Linked DNA regions of Homo sapiens: regions 1 and 3 are each linked to region 2. Evidence: promoter capture Hi-C in 16 types of primary human blood cells and fetal thymus (Javierre and others, 2016). All regions are on one chromosome and are shown on one strand. Each heading gives the region's core, a stretch centred on a gene start or on the middle of the fragment in contact. The rest is flanking DNA. Distances are from core to core; before and after follow the strand shown. Region 1 holds the start of AKAP7 (A-kinase anchoring protein 7). Region 2 holds the start of EPB41L2 (erythrocyte membrane protein band 4.1 like 2). Region 3 overlaps EPB41L2 (erythrocyte membrane protein band 4.1 like 2).

The links. The method cuts DNA at HindIII sites, captures the fragments that hold promoters and counts their contacts. A CHiCAGO score of 5 or more calls a contact.
Region 1: the fragment with the promoter of AKAP7 here is called in contact with the fragment with the promoter of EPB41L2 in region 2 in 5 of 17 cell types (monocytes, neutrophils, naive CD8 T cells and 2 more); the score reaches 8.4 in monocytes.
Region 3: a contact is called between a fragment that was not itself captured here and the fragment with the promoter of EPB41L2 in region 2, in 1 of 17 cell types (endothelial precursors). The highest score is 5.2, in endothelial precursors.

The regions. Positions count from the first base shown.
Region 1 is chr6:131,132,278-131,136,716 of GRCh38, forward strand. AKAP7 (A-kinase anchoring protein 7) reads left to right here and starts at 3,190. Exons shown (of 8, transcript NM_016377.4): 1 at 3,190-3,505. The coding sequence starts at 3,487. RefSeq lists enhancers at 2,821-3,321, 3,758-3,817 and silencers at 3,148-3,237, 3,388-3,497. The HindIII fragment of the contact is 7,096 bases long and covers 2,001-4,439 here.
Region 2 is chr6:131,059,852-131,064,841 of GRCh38, forward strand. It overlaps EPB41L2 (erythrocyte membrane protein band 4.1 like 2), which reads right to left and starts at 3,394. Exons shown (of 20, transcript NM_001431.4): 1 at 3,304-3,394. It overlaps LOC105378004 (a long non-coding RNA gene), which reads left to right and starts at 3,552. Exons shown (of 3, transcript XR_942993.3): 1 at 3,552-3,765. RefSeq lists silencers at 2,851-2,950, 3,291-3,630. The HindIII fragment of the contact is 3,039 bases long and covers 1,799-4,837 here.
Region 3 is chr6:130,976,182-130,980,959 of GRCh38, forward strand. All of the region lies in intron 1 of EPB41L2 (erythrocyte membrane protein band 4.1 like 2), which reads right to left. Among named protein-coding and RNA genes, the nearest start is that of EPB41L2, 85 kb to the right of the region's middle. The HindIII fragment of the contact is 1,133 bases long and covers 867-1,999 here.

The sequences.
Region 1 (4,439 bases), core at 1,940-4,439, 72 kb after region 2:
ACTCCAGCCTGGGCGACAGAGCGAGATTCCGTCTCAGAAAAAAAAAAAAAAGATGAATTCATAGGTATTAATTTGTTTTATGAAAGCAAAAAAGAACCAGGTTGCCCAATGCTTTAACGAAGGTTCACCTGCAGCACGACTCATGAGGGCATGGATCCTCTGGTCCACACTTCCCTCTCCCTCCGTATGTTCTGCCCATTCCTCCCTGACTATTAGTACACAGCCCTTTTCTCCCCAGAGGACAATATACACTGGCACAGTGCCAAAACAACTGGATTGGAAGGGTTTAGTTTTAAGCTACCACACTGTTCCTGGACCACAACACCCCACCGAGATTTTGAAAAGCCTGAGCCAATTATTTTCTAGAATGTCACACATTCTGGATTGGTCTGATTCTTTCCTCATCATGTTATTTTACTTGTACCTCTATCTCCTGTATTTCTGGAAATCTGAAAATTATATTTAAAGCCTTAGCAGCTTCAGGTGAAATATTTATGGCAAGACTACCTTGCAGTGATGATATAGCTTTCACAGGAGCTTTCACAGATTGTCCACCATTAATGATGCTGAGTTTAATCACGATAAAGGTGGTGACAACCAGGTTTATTTACATGGAGTAAAAATATGTTCTCTCCTGAGCAATTACCAAGTATTTTGTGGGGGGTAGTATTTTGGCAACTTATAAATATTTCGGTCCACATTAACCTTTCATGTAATGGTTTTAGAATATATTGATGATCTTTGCATCAATCAGTTATCAGTTGTGGTGGCAAAATGGTAATTTTCCAATTATTTTATGTCTCCTATATTTATTATTGAAAATTCTTCTGTGCAAAGCAGCTTTCCCATACTACTACTTCTAAAAAGTCATGGTAAATCTTTCTTTCCCTTTAATTTTTAGAGTAAGGAGACTAAGGAATTGCGTACTTGTCACCTTTAATGGTGGCCTACTAGTTTTTCTTCCTCATTTTTTGAGTATTATTATGGGTATATAGATTTTGTATTCAGTATGTTACAATAATTACAGGTGTTATCCTTTTATGATGTCAGATTATCTCCCATTTGCTCAAAGAAAGCTGTTTCTCGCTAGTCCTTGTGTTTTTGATAGTCCCCATTTGTCTTTGCTTTTTGGCACAAGAAGATGTCCAAGGTTCACCTTGTACTTCCCTTTCTCCCTGTCATTTCTAAAAGAAGCTCTGTGAAAAATTCCTTTTTCAGACTTGGGTAATTAAAATGTTCCTCCACATGGTAGGTGTTGATAAGACTCTGTATTCATAATACTGGTGGTGAAAAATATGTGGCATTTGGGCTGTTACCTCTGCTTAGGTAAGAGAATGAAACTTCCATATATCTCTTGGTACACACCACAGGGGAAGAAAAATCTTTCTCCTGCCCATTTAGTTCACTAGGTTGGACTGTGTAAATTAAATTGACAAAAGACAGATTAAGACGAGAAAAGGATTATTACACATGCACATAGATGCTTCACAGGAAAGAACTAAAAGCCCGAAGAGGCAGTTAGAACTGGGGGCTTCTATACCATTTTAACGATGATAAAGTGTGGAGAGGCTAGACAAAGGAAAAGGGGGCTTAGCCTTTTTGCAGTATGGGAAGGTTACTAGAAAATGTATGGGTTTGTTATGCAGGTAAGACTCATTCTCCTCTTTCTGGTATGGGTGAGTGGTAAAGCTTTGTTGTTTGTTTGTTTGTTTGAGACAGGATCTGGCTCTGTTGTCCACACTGGAGTGCAATGGCATCATCTCAGCTCACTGCAACCTCCACCTCCTGGGCTCCAGCGATCCTCCCACCTCAGCCTCTGGAGTAGCTGGGATTACAGGCATGGGTCACCACGTCTGGTTAATTTTTGTATTTTTGGTAGAGACAGGGTTTTGCTATGTTGCCCAGGCTGGTTTCAAACTCCTGGACTCAAGTGATCCACTCGCCTTGACCTCCCAAAGTGTTGGGGTTACAAGCGTGAGCCACTGGGCCCGGCCTGGTAAAGCTTTAAAAATAAAAATTTATGTCACCTTTACGAAGGGAAATTTATGTCCTGCTTTTAGGCAGAAAGGGGGAGGTCAAAGTTGTTCCTGAGTCTTTAGTTTCTGAACTGTTTTAAGCTCAAGAATAATCCTTATGCTGAAGTGGCATATTTGGGGTGGCATATTCTCATCCTCTTCACTATGAATGTGGACCACATTTTTGCAGCTTTTATTTCCGCAGTTACTTATGTTTCTTTCTCTGCTATTATATGATCAGCTCCATAAGTAAAAGACCTGTCTTACCTGCACATCCTCAGCACAGAGCTCAAGCATTAAATAAATATTAGGGGAACTGGTTGTACTTTCCTACCAGCCCATAAATGGGCATCAGAAACTCAACGTGTTAGAATTATTTGAAAATCAGAGTAACTAGTTTGCCGACTTCTAGTGTGCAGCCTTTACGCCAGCTGTTGTGGCTGTGTAGGGGTCTTCTTTTCTTCCATCCCTATTCTACGATGCATTCAACATAAGCGAAGTGTTATTATTCACGAAAGGCGCTAATTTGTGGACGGATGCACCTAATGTTCTTAACCCCTGGTTTCTTCGCACTAAAACCAATCCCAATAGCATTCCGTTTCAAGTGAAAGGTTTTTATTTTTTTAAACTAAGTAAATTTCTTTTTCTCCCAATTTACTCACTGCAGTACCTTATACTACAAGAACCAGCAACTGGTTTCCTCTTAATGTCTAAACATAACATCATTGTTAAAAATTAGAGACTTTGTCACAATTTGCAGTTTTTAAAAGTAAGGTAAATAAAGTATCTCATTATACAGAAGTACAAGGTCTCGTTCTTGTACATTTCGCTCTTCCCAAATATTCTGCAATCAGAACCCTGATTGCAAAACTAAGCACATGGATTCTCAAAAGACACCAGGCCAGAGAATTCTTTCATCCTAGTCCCAATCTCGCCCTTGAAAGCGTGGGAGGGGCAAGGCTGCGCCACGGGAAATAAATGAGGGCTGCCAAAGGCCGTCGGAGGCCGCGGGGCTCGGCAGGCAGGCGAAGACCCAGCGTCGCATTGCAGAGTCGAGACGACCTGGGCTGCCGTGACGCCGCAGTCGCCGGCCCTAGTTTCCCCCGCCCTGCCCGAGCGCGTCCGCGCCTCTCGCCCGAATCCGGGTACCACCGGCGACTCGGGTCGGCCCCTTCTGGCTTGTTCCGGCGTCCGGCCTGGCATGCGGGTGCTGCGGCTGCTGCGGCTGCCGCCGCCGCTGCTGCCGCTGCCGCGGGGGCTGCGGCTTGGGAAGCTCCGCGCTTCCGCAGGCCTGGCCTCCGCCGCCCGGGCCCCCGCAGCCTGTCGCTGGACCCCGCGCCGGCCCAGCGCACCGCCCTCAGGCCCCGAGCCCCGCCCTGGCCTCCGCCTCGGCCTCGCCTCCAGCCCCGGGACGCGGCCCGCCACCGCCGCTGCCGCCAGCCCAGACGCGCCGCCCGCATGCGCCGCGACCATGGAGCGCCCCGAAGCGGGTGAGACCGGGCTGTCCAGCGGGCCGGGGCGGGGGCGACAGGAGCCGCGGGGGCCTGGGCCTGCTCTGCGCTCGAACTTTGGGAGGGCCTGACCCGCGCCGGCCCTTCTCCGAGTCTCCCTCCTTCCCAAAAGGACTCAGGGTAGCACCGAGAAGCCCGGTGCAACCGGGGTGTACATCAGTGCTGCCTGTAGCGAAGCGTTTTAATGCACGCATTGTGGGTCCGACAGGAGGCGGGGGTATGAGCCCATCCCCGAGTTTCACTTTTCTTTCTCCCTTTCTCATCCTGTGACCCTTTGCACAAAGTTCATGCCAGTACACATTCCTTCCGACGGTGTTGATGTGGGTAAATGTAAACAAAACCTAGTAAAATTTCGATTTTATCTTATATCACAAATATTAAGCACCCGAACCACCATACTGTCTCATTTAGGATTTTCTGCCAGGTTTGGACATGACCGCTTTTAAAACTGGCGCCAAGTCTACACTAGCGCCCGGAATGAATTTCCAGTTTAGGTCAGCGTTTGTTGTGAACTGAACTTTGTGATAGAGCGAGTTAGGGGTGGACTTTCGGTAAAAGGGTCCGCAAACCAATTAGAGAAAAGGTGCTCCTCTGCAAGAGTTTCATAGGATAAACTCATAGAAGAGTATAAAAAGCATAAAAACGTTAAAGTGTACTATATAAATAGCAGTTAATCGTGTGAATATGTTGACAATTGTTAAGTGAATGATGACAGTGAGTTTTTGCATTTAGGAAATGCATGGGAATGGAAATTGTTAAGGAGAAAAGAGCCATACTCCAGTTCCTTGTTTAAGTGCCGTGGCTTTGCAATTCAGGATCCTGTTAGCATATCTGTATATTTTCCTTACTCATAAAGTTTAAGATGTTTGTGGAGGTTACTTCCTCCTTTCATCCATTTTCGGACACTATTAAC
Region 2 (4,990 bases), core at 2,144-4,643:
TACAGTAATTCTGAATCTGAAAAAAACAAGCCCACTGGAAATGTTTCTAAATAAAGGTGGGATGGAGGAGGTAGGCACATTTCTTTTGTTTTCTCCAAGTAAACAGCACAGATTTTAGAAATGCAAAATGTGACTCAGTGGTATTGATCCCTATAAACTGTTTATTTGCCTTATAAAACTAGTAGCAATTCACACTTTTCAATAAAAAGCCCACACATAGCTTTTAAACAGGCTACTTCAGTTCAAAAAAGAAAGAAAAAGGCCCATGTCTTCAGCTGGGATTACAGGCGTGCGCCACCATGCCCGGCTAATTTTTGTATTTTTAGTAGAGACAGAGTAGAAACAGAAACAAAACAAAACCTTCAAAAATATTTAGCATTCTGCTATATAAAATATAAACCCTATATTCCTAAATGAAATGGCAAAGATACAACCTTTGTAGTTCACCAGCCACAGTAATATGAGAGGGGTGATTCAGGGCAGAACCTGATGTTAAACATAACTGTACAATATTACTAATTACAGAGAAATTGTACCAATAAATATTTTGGTTGTGGACTGCTTTGTCATCTTTGCAAGTATTTTTAGTTGAAAGCAAGTGGTTGGGTAGTACACGTGGACATGGTTCTGATTTTTAAATACCTATTTTTACATTCTGGTCACTGGTTAGGTTTTCTAAACTCAATTCCTTAGAACTAGTAATTTGGAAAGGGTAAGCCACAAGAATGTTACGTTAAGAAGCCAAGGATCTAACTAGCTCAGCAACTCAGATCAGCACAAAACTCATTTGGAAACCTCCAAGTGCTAGCATTATCTAATGATGGACCCAGGCAGTCAGTAAATCGTTAAGAACAGGTATGAAAGTGAGCAAACTGCCCTAAAGCTATCTCCTGAAAAACAGCAAGAGATATCTGAACTTCCTTCTTTTATATTTAGATGGTTATTTTTTTGGTGGCCTCTCTTCAGATTCATCCCCTAAATTAAATTTGCTTCTTTCTACTTGGACTTAAATTTCAGATTTGAAATATACACACTTAGTTGCTACAAAATGCTCCCTGGCAGTTTACATTTTTTACAAAAGTTAGGAAAAATTTTACTGAAATTATAGCTTTAACTGATTTTTTAAAATCACTTTTAATCTTTTTTAAGGATCACCATGCAACGTAGATATATGAAGAGTTCGAGGGACGTGGCTCAATTCATCCACGAATTTTCTTTCGAAGGTTTTTGCAAAAAGTGCTCTCAACTACTTGGACTAGTGGTTAAAGATTAAAGAACTGTTATGACTAAGTCTTTCTTACAGAGGGATGTTTTAAAAGGAAAGAAACCGTCCCTTCCCGTTACTCTAAATGAGCAGCCTCTTGTTCTCGGCAGTCTGTCTGCACACAAGACCACTACTGACTTCAGTGGGAATTCTGCCCAAGAAGTGAGGAAGACAGGATAGGATTAAATTAGCGCTAAATCCACACCATTGTTCCAAGCCATTACCACTTGTACAGTTCTCCAATAACCTCCAAAGAATAGATATCTGAAGTTTGATGGTGGTTCTTAAATTGAATTAAAAGAATGACCACTCGAGCTCTGACAGGTGACACAGCATAGCTCTTCAAAAGTTGTGTCAAACTCACAGCCTAACGGATGGAGCCAGTTGGCCCTTATCACAATTCAAGATTGCATTGCAATGCAGCCCCCATCAGTGGCTGCAACAGCCACCCAGTGATTTCTCACAGCAATGAGCCTGCAAAGGGAAACTGAATAGGATTAAGCACTATTCGTTCCCCCACTGAAACCTGTTCAAAGCTTGAGAATTCTAAATCCTAGCCCCTGCAGCATAGAAACTGACTCAGTTTCCCTCAACTGCTAAGTCCAAGGTGAAATCTGACAGAACACCAACTGAAATGCTAATTCTCAACAGCGTTATAAAGAGACCAGATAAATAATGTATTCCGTTGAAAAAAACAATAAAAACGTAGGGTGGGGGAGGAAATAAAGACTGAAAAACTGAGGGGAAAACCGCGAAAGTCGTTTTTTTAAAACAGCTTAAATAACAGTAACAAGAGGAACAAGACGCCTGGCACACACATGCCATTTCAGAGGCAAGAAGTTCAAGAAACTGGGGAAAGATGTGATTCAGAAAAGCGAAAATATAGCCACAGCTCCTCTAGATTCCACCTTCTCTCCCATCCACCCAGGGATCTTAAAATTAAGGGCAGCTGTGGTGTTGATGGGGCAATTCAATGAAAGACTACCCGGGTCCGTAGGGAGGGCTCCATACGCAGACCCCTCCCCAAAATAATAGACTCTAGGCAGTAGTTCTTCTCACCAAACCTCATTTTATTTATACATATATATAAAAAAAAAAACTTGACCTCAGGGGAGGTGAGCGATCTAGAGAAGCATAACTGATGTCCCACCACAGACCTCAGGCTGCTGGGGGCAGCGTCTGCGCCTGGGGATGGCGTCCCCAGACGCCGACTTCAACCCTGTCGCGCTCCTTTAGGTTCTCCTCGCCCTTCCCCGCTGCTCACCTAAAAATGCTCCCAACCCTCGGCCCCCAGGCGCAGGAGGAGAAAAAACAAGCCATCTGTGGTGAGATGGCCTGGGTGTGGGAATTGTAAGGATCGGAGCACGAAACACGCGTCCCTCTCCGCAGCTCCCAGACGGCGCAGGCGGCAGCTGGGGGCGCGGACGCGAGCCTACAGCGGGCCCGACCCGCACCGCGCGTGGGGCTGGCGCGCCGCCCTCGCCCGGCTTCCCGCAGTCCCCACGCGCGCGGCCGGCCCGCGCTTCCCCTCCTAAAACCTTCCTCCTGAAGGGCGACGCCGCGGCCGACCCCCTCCCCGCGGGGGGGATGGAGCCGGATTTTTCCCGCTGTTGCTCCACGGGGCCCGGACGCGTGACCTGAGCCCACGGCACCCCGGGGGGGACGGCGTCCTCCCCGTGCCCCCGCCTTTCCTGGCTCCGCCGGGACGCGGCCCCGGTCCCCCGGAAGAGGGAAGAGGGGGACCGCGGGGAGCAGCGAAGCCGGGATCCGGCCCGGAGCAACAGGACCCGGACCCCCGGGCAAGAATCGGGTCGGGCAGAGACCGGGAAGGAAAGGAGAGAGGGAGCCGCAGAAAATCCCAAAGCCGGGCCCCCTCTCCCCGCCCCCCATCCCGGTGGGACCGTCCCGCCACCGCTTCCTGCCCGGAATCAGCTTCCCAGCTGCAGCCAGAGGAAAAATCTGAGCCGCCCCTGCAACCCCACACTGACCAGTCGCCCGGCCCGTGCAGCCCCGCACGCCTCCTTACCCCGACGCCGTACCTCAGGAGCTCGCTCGCCGCGGGACCCGTCCCTCTTCAGTCCCAGCCGCCGGCAGCCGCGCCTGCCTCCTCCCTCCGCTAGGTTTCAAATTGAAATTCCCTGACTGGGGCCGTCAGAGGACTCTGAGGGCCGGCCCCGCCCCCTCGCGGCGGAAGCCCCTCCCGCGACCCCGCCGGACGAGCCCCCGGCGCGGAAACCCCCGCGGGCGGTCCCGCCCCCGACGCCCAGGCCCCGCCCCTGCGCGGGCGGGGGACCTTTCCCGCGGGATTCGGCAAGCGCGGCCGCGGAGACCCGGGGGTGGAGGACGTCTTTCGCCCTCAGGGCAGCCCGGATGACAGCTAATGCGCCTGGGCAAGGCGTTCTCAACTGCGATTCCCGGCCTTAAATGTCCTCTCAACTTTTAAAAGTTATTTATTCAAAGTGCATTTGCTGACTAAACCTTCACTGAGCGCCTTCCTAGAGGTAAACACTGGAGCAGAGCCTGGAGATGCAGAATAAGGAAAACTGGGTCTCCCTCAGTCTAGAGTGGAAAAAGTGCTTTCACAGGAAGGGCATTGAAAAGGAACCATTTATTCTTCCTGTGGGAGGGACAGGAGGGGTTGGGGAAACCCCGTGGAGGAAAGGCCTCCCCAGAGTAAGTAGGATTTCTCTGGGCAGAGGCCTGGGAATCTGGATTGCAGAGCATGACCACGGGTGAAGAAGAGTCTGGAAAAAACCTAGTTTGGGGCTAAATTGTGGAAAGCCACAAGCACACACACGCTACCCTTCTGGTTCTTTTCTTTTGTACAATGAGGTCAATATGTTTCAGATTCAATATATTTCATCTTTTGAAGGTTTGCACGTCAAGCTGGTGTCAAACAACGTGTCCAGCTCACTGCCTCCAGCATCTGCCTCACACGCACCTCTTATCCCTTTTACTCCTCCCACTTTTATTGAGGTCTTTAGTGATTCCACCACAGCCAAAGTCGTCTCCCTTTCTTTCCTAAACAGAACCTTTTCCAAAATTAACAATGTCAAATGAAACCTCAGTAACAATACCTTCCAGTTAACAAAATACATTCACATATTTTATCATCATTTGATCCTCACAATCACCCTATGAAAAAGGCAGGCACGTTTGAGCTCCATTACATCAAAAAGATTTGGGAAGATAAATTATTTGCCAAGGTCCTTCTAGTAAATAATACAAATAATAATAGTTAAGGTTGATTGTGTGCTTTATGTGCTAGGCATTGTTCTAAGTCCCTTACATGTATTAATTTAATCACAATCCCATATGCTAAGTATACAAGTTAAATTTTATAAGGTGTGCTAAAACAGAGCAGAAATCTGATTAGACAGCAATTCTGGTAAAGGAGACCTGGGAATTTAATGAGAAAATACTATTATTTTCTCATAATAAGAAATATGCAGCAGATTTACAACGAAACTAATGAAACAAACTTCGGGATCTCTCATTTTCACAAGCCTTGAAACTAACTTTATAATTTTGTATTTCATTTTGTGTTTTTTAAAGAGTCCCTAAAGTCATATAAGCTTTTGGGCCCATAAAACATTGAACCACCCTGATGGAGCCCCCTTTAAAATGCTAGTGCAAAATAACATAAATATAGGCATAGTTAATAAAATATAATGCCCTTCTCATAAGAAAGGATATGCTTACTATACTCTGCGTTGAAGTACATGA
Region 3 (4,778 bases), core at 183-2,682, 86 kb before region 2:
GGTCTATAAAATTTTTTTAACGTTTTTAAAAATGGTCCACATTTCATAGGATCATTGATACTGACATATCTGATGTAGGCAGAAAAACTAATTTTTTTCACTAGCACCTTGGCTCTAATGTGCAAGTTCTTCTTTGACCACATACCACAGTTTAACTTCTCTCAGGCTCTAAACCAGAATAATGTATACAACTGCACATGCGTCACCTGCAAAGTTTCTTCCCTACCAGACATCTTAGCAATGTTAGACTCATATGTTCAATTACATTAAAAACAATTACATTTTTAAGATGTAATGTTGAAAAGTACTGTAGATTTATGGGACTCTAGGAAAGAAAGATACTGCATGACCCCAGATTTTTACAAGGGGTATAGAGAGAAAGTGGAAGCAGGTACAGAAGGAGGAAAATGGACAAAAGAATAAAAGAGTGGTGGCTGAGAATCTCTAATCAAAAAGTTACTGTTTTGAACCAAGGAAGCATCTAAAAAGTATTAGGATAAAACTCTTAACAAATCCTTCTTGTCTGCTTTTAATTAACTACAAAAGTCAAAAGCACCACTTTTTAAATTACACAATCAGACAAGTATAGTAATCCAGCAGGTACATTAAACTGTATTATTTTCATTCTATTTTATGTCTAAGAAATATGTGCTGCATTCCTGCTTTACACCAGACACTGGTCTAGGCCCTAAAGACCTAGGGAAAGTTCTTGCCCACAAGAATCTACTGGACATTTACAGTCTAGCAGGCAAGTCAGACACATAAACAAATCATTACACCATATGTGATAAGGGCTGTAAGAGAGGTACAAGAAGGGCACAAAGGAAATGGTCACCTCCTTTGGGTGGTCAAAGAAAGCGTTATAAAGCTTACAATTATAAGATCATTCTTCTCTCACACTTTGAAGGAGCAGATGCTACCACTCGGTCATAATGACACCCACCTTGCCTTAGGGATGAAAGAAATAAAACAAAAGCACCTACCACAAAGTCCACTACATACAAAGCAGAAACAACAATCTTGCTAGCAGCTGTATAATACTCTACATATGACTGAGCAAAATGGAATTTGTAAAGAATCAAAGTAGTTCAGAGCTAAAAGGATCTCAATGTTCATGTACCTCTACCTCTTGCCTTTAATTAGATGGGAAATCTAAGGCCCAGCAGTTAGATTATTTACATAGCAAATCAGTAGCAAGATCTCACCAGGATAGATGTCAGATTCTTACTAATAATCTCAATGCCTTTTCCTGTAGCAAACTGTCCTGCCTGGATGAGAAGGGGAGACACACTGTTAAGGAGAGAAAAAAGAAAAAAAGAATAGAGACCCTTCATTGTTGTCCAAGGGCCAGAAGAAACAAAACAGCCCTAAGACTAGGAATCCAAGAGATCTACAATGCTCCCCAGCTCTGCTCCAACTTCTGTACTCATGAAAAATGCCATAACCTCCCTCCTCCCCCAAAATTCTAAGTCTCCAAAAATAAAAGGGCAATTGTCAAGAAATTATCTACTCTTCTTAACCTTAAGGAACATCAAACGTCCTCAAACAGCTTGAGATATGCTCCCATGTTGCCAGTTAGCTACACGTATAACATAAAAGTAGCAGCTGCTAACCTACCTATATAATGGGATTGTTTTAAAGATCAAAAAAGAATCATAATAGCTACTGGTAAAGTGCAAAACACTAAATGAATGCAATTTACTGTTAAACACAGAATTTCCATGGTCAAAAGGTTCATCTACGCCTTTTCCCCTAAAAGTGGTGGAAGGTATCATTATGGTTTAACTTTATTTTTAAAAAGCAAACATTAATGTATAATAATTTCCTACCAATCCAATGTATCTATTTCTTTCTCAATTTGTAGAAGGAAAATTCTATCCCTACCTAACCCATCCCCTATAATTTCCCTTCTTTCTTTTCTCTCCTTTACTTTAAAACAGCCACCACCATTCCAAGAGGCTCTGCTAGAACCATATAAACATCAAACGTGTAAACACAAAGCTTTTATCAAAAAACATGTTGTATAAAGTTGAATGCTGCTTCTACCAGGGCAAGCTGGGGAAACATTAAGGTGTATTGTAATAAGCAATGCCCAGCTACAAACCCAGAGTGTGGTGGGGAGGTACAGCCCCAATCTGGGGCCCTCTCCTCACTTCACCTGTCTCACTATCCTCCTTCTGCCTGATACATGATCTGCAATGGTGTGGCCACTTGTTGAGAACCCAGTGTACTTCCAGTCCTTCATAACTTTATTAGCTCTCCATAATTTGAGACTACAGCTCTGTCGCTTCACTTTCAAAACCTAACTCTCTAAATTTGAATTAGAAAATCCTAACCACAAGTGCCAAGATGTTCTCAATCCACAACCACACCTACTCAAAACAATAAATAAAAAATATCTAATATCAAGCCATTATACTCACCATTACCTCTGCCCATGAAATCTTGATTTTAATACTGTACTTTTGGGTTTTGTAAAGATCCATTCATTCCATGAGGAATTGCTTTGTGCTTGCTGATAGCTGCTGAGGACACAGACCTGTATAAAATGTGGCTCCAGCAGTGTGAGAGCAGGGCATTTAAATAGCTAACTACAAAGGGAATAAGAGCTATAATGGAAGCATAAACAATTTAGCACTTAACAGACTTGATGAAGGAAGAATGCTTCCCGAGGTGACACTTGACCTGACCTTGAAGGATAAGAAGGAGCTTACTGGGCTTATTATAAGTGGGTAGAAGCACACTCTTCACCGTGGGAACAGTAAGTGAAGGACACAGAATCATGAAAGATAAATGCATTGTAGAGAACACTGAGAACTTCAAGTGCCTGGAACACAGGGGTGGGGAGTGGAGGAGACAGGACAAGGGAAGCAACACCCAAATAATGCATGATCAATATGCTAAGCTCAGATGTTTTTACTCTATTCTGCAGGCAATAAGAAAATGCTATTAACTTTGTATTTCTGGAAGATGACTTTGGCAGCCACATGAGACCAACTGACACAATGAAAGGAAACTGACTGGCCGGGTGTGGTGTTTCATGCCTGTCACCCCAGCACTTTGGGAGGCTGTGGTGGGTTGACCACTTGAGGTCGGAAGTTTGAGACCAGCCTGGCCAACATAGCAAAACCCCATCTCTCCTAAAAATATAAAAATTAGCCTAAAAATACAAAAAAAGTGGCACACGCCTGTAATCCCAGCTACTTGGGAGGCTGAGACATGAGAATTGCTTGAACCCAGGAGGTGGAGGCTGCAGTGAGCCAAGATTGTGCCACTGCACTCCAGCCTGGATGATGGAGCGAGACTCTGTCAAAAAAAAAAAAAAAAAAAAAGGAAACTGGTTAAGATGATGTTCCAGGGATCCAGGAGACTAAGATAGAAGCAATAAGAATGCAAATGAAGAGATGGTATCAATAAATATTTAATGGATAAAATGAATGGGACTTGATAATTAATTGGATTGTGGGAGTAATGAAAAATAAAGCTCCCAAGTTCCTGTGAGTCAAAGGTTAGATAGTGGTACCATGAAGTTAGAAAGAGACTTCCAAACAAAGTAAGAAACAGAAAGGAAGGAAGGAAAAGCTTCCACTTTGAATACATCTGGGCTGAAAATGTGTGACATCCAGGTGGAAATCCGAAGATGGTTGAAGGTATGTGTCTGAATGACAGAGCCTGGTTTCCAGACTGAAATGTGGAACTGCTCAGCCAATCAATGGTATCAGAGGTAGATGAAACTGTAGAGAAAACAAGCAGTAGGATAAATGCTCATCAAAAATCTCCAGGCAGAGAGACCAAAGAACCTATCAAGGAGGCTAAGAAGGATCAGCATTAAGAGAAAGGAAAACAAGAAACTACTGACGAGAAAGAAGAGTCTAACGGGGAGGCATGACCAACAGGGGCAAGGGCAGATTGCTTCAGGGAACAATAAGGGTTAAAAGGGTCATAAGATGGCTACTAACCTCAAAGAGCAAGTTCAGTGGCTAGGAGAAGAAAAATCTAATGGCTACAGATAAAATATCAGAAGAGGGGAGGGAAAGAGGTAAGTGTAAATTAATATCTGAAGTTTAGCAATGAAGAAAAGGCAAGTAATAACTACAAAAAGTCTAGGATTCAGGGGAGATGTATGTTTAGGCTGTTTTTGTTTGGTGCAGTCTTTCGGTGGGAGAGATAGAGAGGAGAGGTTCAACACACAAAGTAGAAAGAAAGGAAAATGAATGGCATGTAGTTCAAAAAAGATGGAGGAAAAGGATCAAAACCACAGAGAAGAGTTTAACCTTCAATAGCAGGAGGAACATCCTGACCCCACAGGCCAAAGAGAACAGTAATGGGAAATAGACATCGGCTGGGAGAGGAAGGGGTTTAAGGAAGCTAGAAAGATTGGGGGAGGGGCAGGGGTGGGGTGGATCTAACAACTTTGGAGCATTTTGTTAAATGAAATTTATAGGAGGCCATTGTTTTGGACTAGCCTCCTGCACTAGGCTCCAGCAGACCATACCACACCAGAATGGAGCTAGGTAATCAAACTAAACTCTGAAACGGGGCAGTTGTTTAAAAAGGAAGAAAGGAATTCACAACAACCAATCCAAAGGGGTAGGCATGATAAGGAAGTCCCCTCTGTTTTAACACTATAAGAAAAGTCACTTTGAAACAACCAACATGCTTTTGTTCTCTGTTTCTGCTTCCGTCAGCTCTTTTCTGTCTATAAAAGCAACTTCCTCTGTTCAGCTTATCGGACATTCATTCTATTTTATAGAATGAGGTGTTGCTCCAGTCTTGAA